Regions from separate parts of the Homo sapiens genome. Here region 2 is linked to region 1. The links are contacts of gene promoters, found by promoter capture Hi-C in blood cells and fetal thymus (Javierre and others, 2016). All regions are on one chromosome and are shown on one strand. The core of a region is centred on a gene start or on the middle of the fragment in contact, and the rest is flanking DNA. Distances in the headings are between cores, read along the strand shown.

The links. The method cuts DNA at HindIII sites, captures the fragments that hold promoters and counts their contacts. A CHiCAGO score of 5 or more calls a contact.
Region 2: a fragment that was not itself captured here is called in contact with the fragment with the promoter of PRMT3 in region 1 in 1 of 17 cell types (activated CD4 T cells); the score reaches 5.3 in activated CD4 T cells.

What each region holds. Positions count from the first base shown.
Region 1 is chr11:20,386,341-20,390,836 of GRCh38, forward strand. It overlaps PRMT3 (protein arginine methyltransferase 3), which reads left to right and starts at 1,376. Exons shown (of 16, transcript NM_005788.4): 1 at 1,376-1,434; 2 at 1,679-1,814; 3 at 3,404-3,486. The coding sequence starts at 1,407. RefSeq lists enhancers at 1,084-1,253, 1,127-1,734, 1,735-2,341, 2,197-2,246 and a silencer at 1,087-1,646. The HindIII fragment of the contact is 3,061 bases long and covers 1-2,022 here.
Region 2 is chr11:17,275,794-17,280,746 of GRCh38, forward strand. It overlaps NUCB2 (nucleobindin 2), which reads left to right and starts at 946. Exons shown (of 14, transcript NM_005013.4): 1 at 946-1,035. RefSeq lists an enhancer at 500-589 and a silencer at 780-1,209. The HindIII fragment of the contact is 1,964 bases long and covers 269-2,232 here.

The DNA of each region.
Region 1 (4,496 bases), core at 126-2,625:
CTGAGATCGTGCCATTGCACTCCAGCCTGGGCAACAAGAGCGAAACTCCGTCTCAAAAATCAAACAAAAAAAAGTTCTATGGTTTGAAGAGATATAAGGAAAGGAAGAAAGGGACGTGGCATGAGGCAGGCAGGGGAACATTTGTGTTCTTCCCCACACAGCAGCCAGATTGTTACTTTCTCAACACATCTGAGAGCATCACTCCCTGGCTTAAATAGTTATGTCTGAGCACTTTACATGTATTAACTCGTTTTATCCTTACTGTAGTTCTGAAGTTAGTCCAGGTTTTTTGTTTTTTGTTTTTTTTTTTTTAAGATGGAGTCTTGCTCTGTTGCCCAGGCTGGAGTACGGTGGCACAATCTCGGCTCACCACAAGCTCCGCCTCCCGGGCTCAAGCAATTCTCCTGCCTCAGCCTCCCAAGTAGCTGGGATTGCAGGCGCGTGCCACCACACCTGGTTAATTTTTGTATTTTTAGTAGGGACAGGGTTTCACCATGTTGGCCAGGCTGGTCTCCAACTCCTGACCTCAGGTGATCCGCCCGCCTCAGCCTCCCAAAGTGCTGGTACTATAGACGTGAGCCACCGTGCCCTGCCCAAGTGCAGTTATTATCCTTGTTTTGTATTTGATGAAACTGAGGCAGAGAGAGGTCGAGTAACTTGCCCAAGATCACAGTTACAAAGTGACGTGGGTAGGATTCAAACCCAGCAGGCTGCCTCTAGAGTTCACGTTCTCACTTAACCAAAGATTAAAATCCGTCTTGGGGGGTTTGACACCTATCTGTCCCTGCAGTAGACCCACCCTGGCCCATGCAGTTCGTTCCCTCTCGCCAGCTGCACCCCCTCCAGGACCTGGGAGCCCAGAAACCAGCCGAGCCTCCAGCGTTTGGCCTCCTCCGCCACCAGAGGGCGTCATGGGCCGATCGCCCCTCCGCTAACCGCTCATCCCAGGAAAAAGGGGCGCACAGAGGACAGGATGCCAACCCCAAAACCGCAGCGACGTCTCTCTGCCTTGGGGCTCACAGCAGCGGGCCGCGACCTCCCACTAACGCCTGCCGCAACCCAAGGAGGAGACAAAAGTCATCTTCCGGGCTGCAACATTAACCGTCATCAGCGCGCCTCTTCAGCGCGCACTGCGCCAACCCTGCGGCAGGAGGAGGCGGAGCCCCCGCTCTCGCCCCGCCCCCACCTCACGTGACCCGCACGGCGCCTCGAGGCCGGAAGCGATTGCGAGCCAGCGCGCGCGCTTCGGCGTTCCCGGCGGTCTGCGAAGTTTCCGGAGCCCGGGTCCCGCCGCGGGTTCGCGCTTGTGCTCGCGCTCGTTCCTGGAGTCGGCGGCCGCTGCGCGCGCTCGTTGCCCAACCCGGTCCCCGCCCCCAGACACGCCGGGCTCTCGGGGCACCACAGCCATGTGCTCGTTAGCGTCAGGCGCTACCGGTGGGTACCCTGGCCCCTCAGCACCCGGCTCGTCCAGCCCCAGGCCGCGCCGCTGTGGGGCCGGTGGAAGACCCTCCGGGACACGGGCCCGGGCAGGGTGGGGGGCTCGCAGGGATCATGAAGGAGGTGCTGAGTGAGGGCCGCGGGCGAACGGGGCGGAGGAGAGCCCATCGTCACCTGCTCCTCGAGCCCCCGGGCCGCACCGGTGTCCGAGGCCGATCTGATTGTTGTGTGTGTGTGTTAGGCGGCCGGGGCGCTGTGGAGAATGAGGAGGACCTGCCAGAACTGTCGGACAGCGGGGACGAGGCCGCCTGGGAGGATGAGGACGATGCAGATCTCCCCCACGGCAAGCAGCAGACCCCCTGCCTGTTCTGTAACAGGTTCGTCCGCCTCAGCGCCTGGCCTCTGCCCTAGGGTGCCCGGGCGCGTGGGGTCTGTGTGCCCAGGAACGCCTTCGGGCGGGAGGCAAGCCAGAGTGGCCTGTCTTTGAATTCTGGAACCACTGGTCTGGGGTGAGGGCTTGTGGAGAAGGAGGACCCTCGGTAGTAGAGAGGGGGAACCGTGAACTGGAAGGCCGGTTGTACTGCAAGCTTTTGACTGGTAGTGCATTGAATCTGTGGTTCCCAAATCTTGTCACTTGAGACGCTGAAAACAAAATGATACTGAACTCTGCACCTGAATCCTTCCAAGTCAGGGATGGGGTCTAAGAATATTCTGTTTTTATGAGGACAAGATCGGAAGTAACAGTGAAGTTACTAACGAGTTACTACTAACGAGTAACATATTTGGCAGCCACCCTGAACTAGATAATCCCTACGGAGCCTTCCGGCTTTACCATGCTAATTCTTTGACCAGTACAGAGCTTCTCAGGTGAAACATTTCTTTTTTATTTGAGCGGTTTCCATAGTCTAAGAAGGAAGTTCACCTTACTTAAGTAGGACTTTTCACTTAAGGAAAAAGACTGTAGTATCAATAATTTGCTCAAGGTCACAAAGCTGTGGTGTGCTTATTTCCAAACTCACATTCTTGCCACTTAAAATTCTGCCTGTTAGTCTTGGGAAGCTTTGGCTCCTGTCCTAGGCAAGTAGGCATGAAAGAGGCCCGGTTGGCATTGGCCGGTGTTACTTTAATACATTTTCCAGTGTTCCCTGTATCTGGGCATGGTGCTGAGTGGTGGTGCGTTAGTGTTCTCATCTGTAGCCCCATTGGGTAGATAGAATGCCTGTATATATTCTAGTTGTCATAAAATATTTATTGAGCACCAGTGGTACCGTGGCTGTGATAGCCTCCATAAATAGTCGACATAACCTATCTCGGTAAACATTTGTGGAAAACTAATGCTCCACATGTGTTAGGAATATAGATAAGGTATACAGCTTCTCTGCTGTGTATTCCTGTCTTTAAGTAGCCTTCAGATTTGCATGTCACATAATAAAGAGGATTGATCCTCACAGTGTCTGTGATGCAAGTACGTTGGGAATACTACAAGATCACTTTTGAAATAAGGCACTTGGGGAGTATGCCAGCTGTAAAATTACATTTTATGCTTTATTTCTAAAAGCAGTTTGAGCTGTGCCAGTTCAAAGCCTCTGAAAGCAGAGTTGACACTTAGAGGAGAAAAGAATCTCAAGTAGAGAAATTGTATGACTTGAGAGAAACAGACTCTATCAAAGGGAACTCTCTTAAAAGCCTTTTGATAAAATCAGTGATATTATTTGACAAATAAATTCACTTTGACATTTAAAGGATAATTGGTTTTAGGTATAAAATGGGACTCAGAAGTACTAATTCCCTTTAAAAGTGCTGGATTCCCTTCCTTTCAGATACAAGTGTGTTTGTTTTTTCTTAATTGGAAGTAAAACTAGAAACCAGCAGAGTTAAAAAAAAAAAAAAAGTGTATATGTAACATGAAATCAGTATTTAGACTTCTTAGGGGACTATTCCATGAAGCTATTGCTTGATTTTTCAGGTTATTCACATCTGCTGAAGAAACATTTTCACACTGTAAGTCTGAGCATCAGTTTAATATTGACAGCATGGTTCATAAACATGGTGAGTAGTTTTTAGAATAAAGGCAATTTAATTTGTGAAATTTGGGCAGGCATGGCAGCTCACACCTGTAATCCCAGCACTTTGGGAGGCTGAGGTGGGTGGATCACTTTAGGTCGGGAGTTCAAGACCAGCCTGGCCAACATGCTGAAACCCCACCTGTACTAAAATACAAAAGTTATCTGGGTGTGGTGACGCACACCTGTAATAGCAGCTGCTCAGAAGACTGAGGCAGGTGAATTGCTTAAACCTGGGAGGCAGAGGTGGCAGTGAGCTGAGATGGTATCACTGCACTCCAGCCTGGGCAACAGAGTGAGACTCTTCTCAAAAAAAAAAAAAATCTGTGAAATATAAGTTCAGATTTTATAGTTTTTCAGACCCTTTTCTGTACGAGTTTAATATGGCGAATCACACAGCAACATCTTGTGGAAATGGAGTTTTTTTGACAAGCGGTCCTTGAGAAAAGATGAATAAGTCACTCTTCTAGACAAGATTCACTGTATTTAAGCTTATATTAGCTTTTCAACTAAAAACAAAAACAGACTTGGCATGTGATTACATTTTTACATTTTATGTGATTACATATTAGATTTAGGGAGAGCAAGTGTAGATGTAGGACTTGAAAAAGGACGCAGGTCATTTGAAAAAAGACAATCAGCTCAAAGCATGACATGAACTTCACAGCCTACGAGACTGAGTTTTATACAAAGTTCGGTAGAGACTGGAAAAAGAGTGATGAAGTTAAGATTAATATGCAAAATACTCAGGTGATGTTTCTATTGAAACTTTTATTTAAACACACTTGCCTTACAATTAAGGCCTTCCACTTTAAATGGATGTAGAAGAGCTATACTACAATAAAATTAACTAAATAGGCCAGGTGCTGTGGCTCACGCCTGTGATTCCAACACTTTGGGAGGCCAAGGCAGGTGGATCACAAGGTCAAGAGATTGAGACCATCCTGGCTAACCCAGTGAAAACCTTTGGGAGGCCAAGGCGGATGGATCACAAGG
Region 2 (4,953 bases), core at 1-2,500, 3.1 Mb before region 1:
AAAAAGTAAAAAATATTCTTGTAGAGATAGGATCTCACTGTTGTCCAGATTGGTCTCAAATTTTTGAGCTCAAGCCATCCTCCTGCCTTGGCCTCCCAAAGTGCTGGCATTACAGGGTGAGTCACCATGCCTAGTCTGTACTGTTTTCCTGGCAATGTTATCTCATTCAATCTTCGTGAATAACCCTAAGGTAGATATGATACCAATTTTTCAGGTGAAAAAAACTAATCGGCAGGATGAAACTTCGTAAACAGCCTGTGGCTCCAAAAGCTTCTGGAAGGCTCAAGCTACCCATGTGCATCTTTGAGCCTCAGTTTCCCCATCTTTAAAATGAGGGGTTTGGAATAGATGTCTGTTCTCTGGGGCAGGATGCAGAGGAAAGAGCTGTCTGCGAATGGGCAAGAGAGAAGGTGGGTAAATACAGTTAAACCACAGTGACCGAGGGCCCAGCACAACGGGGGTGGGTGCGGTTACAAATGCCGTTAAGATTCCCGCCAAGGCGGAGGACGGGGGTGTCAGAGCCGAGCGAGGCCTGTGGGCGAGAATAGGCCTGACAGCCATTCTCCGACCTGCGTGGGCGCTGCAGGCGCAGGCCAGAGGCCAAGGGAGAGGCGATCCCTGGGGCTCTGCCCGGGTCTCAGGACGGCACCTCACCCGCCCGAGTCCTGCTCCACAGGATTCTCCGGGTAAGCTAGGGAAGGAAGAGGCGCGGCCTCCTGAGCCCGCATCTCAGAGCGCCACGTCCCTCCTGGCTCAGCCTCCCACCAGGCTCCACAGCTTCGGCCCTCCTCACCGCCCGCCTCCAGGCTCCCCGGCGCGGCCTTGTCCCTGCTCCCGCCAATCGGCGTCGTCAGCAATCGCGAACCGGACCAATCAGCGGCCGCAGAGTGTGGGAACTGTCGCCATGGCAGCCAGGAGGCGGGCGCGCGCGGCGGGAGGAGGGGCAGAGCGGAGCGGTGGGCCGGGGGCTGGAGGACAGGTTTGTGCGCTGGACGCAAGCACCAGGCGCAGCCTCGCTCGCCGAGACCCGGCCAGGTAAGGCCGGTGGCCGCGCGGTAGGTGCGGAGCAGCGCGGCGGGAGATTAGGGGTGGGGGAGTCCGGAGATAAGGCTCCGGTCTTCGCCTGCCTTGCCAGAGCAGAGAGGATGGTGGGGGCCGTGCTGTGGGCGGGGCACCGGCGGGGAGGGGGCTCCCAGCGCGAGCCGGAGGCGCTGGGTTCCCTCTGCTCCACTCGCAGCTGGGCACCCGAGCTTTCTTCGGGGTCGAGGAGGGTGGCTGGCTCTTGGCGGGGAGCAGGAGAGGGTAGGTGCCAAACCGAGACCCTGGCGGGGTCCCTTCGGGTTTGGGCAGGTCGATGGGCAAGGGGGTGCCCACTAGTGAGGAGGGACACCCACCAATTCCAGGCGATGCTCCCCTGTGCCGCTCAGCAAAGCTAGGCCCGGGGATCCTGCTCTTCTCCGGTCTGGTTAAGCCAGCAACCTCTGACACTTAGGAGAAAGTTAGTGTAAGTCGTGATATGCTTTTCACTTAAGTGACAAATTAGGTACGAGATGAACCCTTTTGGTTTTAGGAGATGAGAAACAGTATTTCCTTGTTGCACCTGCTAAGTGGCAACTCAGTGAGCAAATATGGTTATTGTGGTTGGTGTTTGCAACGGTCTTAGATGACAGTTATTTTACAGTATCAAATGGCTGGGAGAGGGAGGGAAAGAAGGAGAGAGAGAGAGAGAATATGAGGGAATGAGAATGAACGGGAACCATTATGATTTTTGAGAGACAGAACCTCTTGAAATTCTATGTCTGCTAAACTTCTAAATTGAATAATGTACATTTTATGCAATTGAATAAGCTAGTGCTACCATTTAAGCCTGCTACTAAGGCTCTGTTAAATCCGTGGACGAATATGAACACTAAAAGATATTACCTTGGTTTAAAAATAGGGGAGGTTAAATGCAAATATTTCTGATAGTGAATTTTGTTTGAGGGAGATTGTGGACTTTCCCTATGGGAAAGTTAAAGAATTGATGAGATAGATGCTTTAAGGAATGTTTTTGTTTTTTGAAACTTGAATAAGTTCAACAAATGTTGAACAAATATTTCAACAAATCTTCTTCAGCTAATAGGGTCAAAAATTAAAATTCTGGAAATTTAGAATTAGAAATGAAATCTCAAATAATGTCACTCTCCTAATTAGGATGAACATGGAAACTTCTATTTCTCATCGTGGTCTTCAAGCTTTCCATGATCTCATCTACCTTTGTAGTAGGGGGTCAAATTTTTTTTTTAACTAGACAATTTTAGAAACTTAAAGGAGGCAAAAATTTATTTCTGTCTCCGTGTGTTTACTCATGCTCTTCTCTATCCAAATTTTACCCATCTTTTTTTTTTTTTTTTTTTTTTTGAGATGGAGTCTCACTCTGTCACCCAGGCTGGAGTGCAATGGCCCGATCTCAGCTCACTGCAGCCTCCGCCTCCCGGGTTCAAGGGATTCTCCTACCTCAGCCCATCGAGTAGCTGGGATTACAGGGACCCACCACCACAGCCAGCTAATTTTTTGTATTTTTATTAGAGACGAAGTTTCACCATGTTGGCCAGGCTGGTCTCGAACTCCTGACCTCAGGTGATCCACTTGCCTTGGCCTCCCAAAGTGCTGAGATTACAGGTGTGAGCCACCGTGCCTGGACGACCCATGTTCTAAGAGTCGAATCTGTCTATGTTGTGTTTACCTTTCTTTGCTCTCCCAAGGTACATATTGTTCATATCACGTATTTTGTATATATTCTTTCAGCATGCTTTTTGCCAAGTTGGTTTGCGCTCTGTGAATAACAGTTGAGATAAAATGCACAATTAAGACAATTAAGGTACTTTTCAAGACACAACTAATTATGGGCACTAATATCAATAACATCAATTCAGATGTCTTTTTTGTTTTGGGATATGTTATTAATCTCTGAACACATACTAAACTAATTTTGCATTACTTAGAATAATATGTAAATTACTTTCCACTTTCTAAGGACCCTTTTGAAGGCTGGGTTCTACAAAATACCCTTTTGAGTACTGGGTAGCTGGCAGAAGCAAGTGCAGGATTTAAAAATGTATTGAAAATAATCCTTTAGGCCGGGCATGGTGGCTAATGCCTGTAATCCCAGCACTTTGGGAGGCTGAGGCGGGTGGATCACTTGAGTCCAGGAGTTCAAGACCAGCCTGGCCAACATGGTGAAACCCCGTCTTTACTAAAAATACAAAAATTAGCCAGACGTAGTGGCGGGCATCTGTAATCTCAACTACTCAGGAGGCTGGAGCAGGGGAATCGCTTGAACCTGGAGGCGGAGGTTGCAGTGAGCCGAGATCGCGCTATTGCACTCCAGCCTGGGCAACTAGAGTGAAACTACGTCTCAAAAACAAAACAAAAAACAGGCTACTAACAATTTCAAATAATTTATTCAAGGAAAAACTTCAATCACTTTCATTATTTCCAATCAAAAATTTTTTTTACAACCATGATGTGGTGAAAAGTATACTTAGTTAGAATTTCATGGCCAGATTCCAGTACGGGCTCTGCCAAACGAACTTGGCCAAGTCAGTTAACTTCCTTCTGTATTTATAACCTTTTATAAAAGTAGGGCTGAATTAGATTACAGTAGTCCTCCTTTATCCTAGAGGGATATGTTCCAAGGGTCCCAATGGATGCCTGAAACTACAGGTAGTACCAACCCTTATATACGCTATGTTTTTTGCTATACATACATAATAATAAAATGAATAACAGTAATACACTGAAATGAAAGTTATATGAATGTGATCTTTCAAAATATCTTGTTTTACCTCAGGTAATTGAAACTGCAGAAAGTGAAATCGCAGATTAGGGAGGACTACTGTACCTCCAAGATTATTTCTGATCTTAGAATTCTCTGATTCTAAAATCCTAAAGCAGCCTAATAGAAGTTCAGATAGTAGTTACTTGATTTTATTTTTGGCAGAGCATTTTTTTTTTTTTTTTTTTTTTTTGAGACAGGGCCTCACTCTGTTGCCCAGGCTGACTGGAGTACAGTGGTGTGATCATGGCTCACTGCAGCCTGGAACTGCCAGGCTCAAGTGATCCTCCTACCTCAGCCTCCTGAGTAGCTAGGACTAAAGGAGCATGCCACCACACCCTGCTAATTTTTAAGTATTTTTTTGTAGAGAAGAGGCCTCGCCATGTTGTCCAGGCTGGTCTCAAACTTCTAGGCTCAAGCGATCTGCCTGTCTTGGCCTCCCAAAGTGCTGGAATTACAGGCATGAGCCACTACACCTGGCCTTGGCAGAGTTTTTTTTGGCAGTGTATTTTAATTATCTGAAGTACAGTATATGTAAATAATAAAGAGATTATAATTTTAATAATATGTTTATTGAGTGATACAGATCTGTTTTTCATAAGCCTATAATCTAGGATACTCCAATCCGTTGTTAAGACTGGAAAAAAAGGAGATATAATAGTTTCATTGATGAGTGTCCTTTTCTACAGATGTAGACAACAGAGGCTCTAAGATCTATACTAATGTCTTGATCAGGGAAAAGCTGGAGTCCAACTCAGCTGGTCATACACTTGATATTTTATTTGAACCTCACTTTCCTGTTGACTTTCATTTTCAAAGGGAAAATGGAGGTGAGCACCAGGTTATCTGTGGCCTTTGAAACTGGTGCCATGGAGAAACTCAAAAGCCGTTTATTTTTCTTCACCCTACCCTGTTTCATCATTAGATTTGTGACATTGATAGTAAGAAGAAGCAATCCACGTTTCCTAGCTCAAGGCAGTGTCTTAGAGAAGGAAACCTGAGTCTCTTGCTACAGTTCTGATTTAAGGTTGGAAGGAAGAGATTATGTTGGATGCATTGCTTTCATTGGTCTATGATTGCATCAGGACTTTGGTTCTGGCAATGTTCAGAGAAGAGCTCTAATGTGGCCTTTCAAA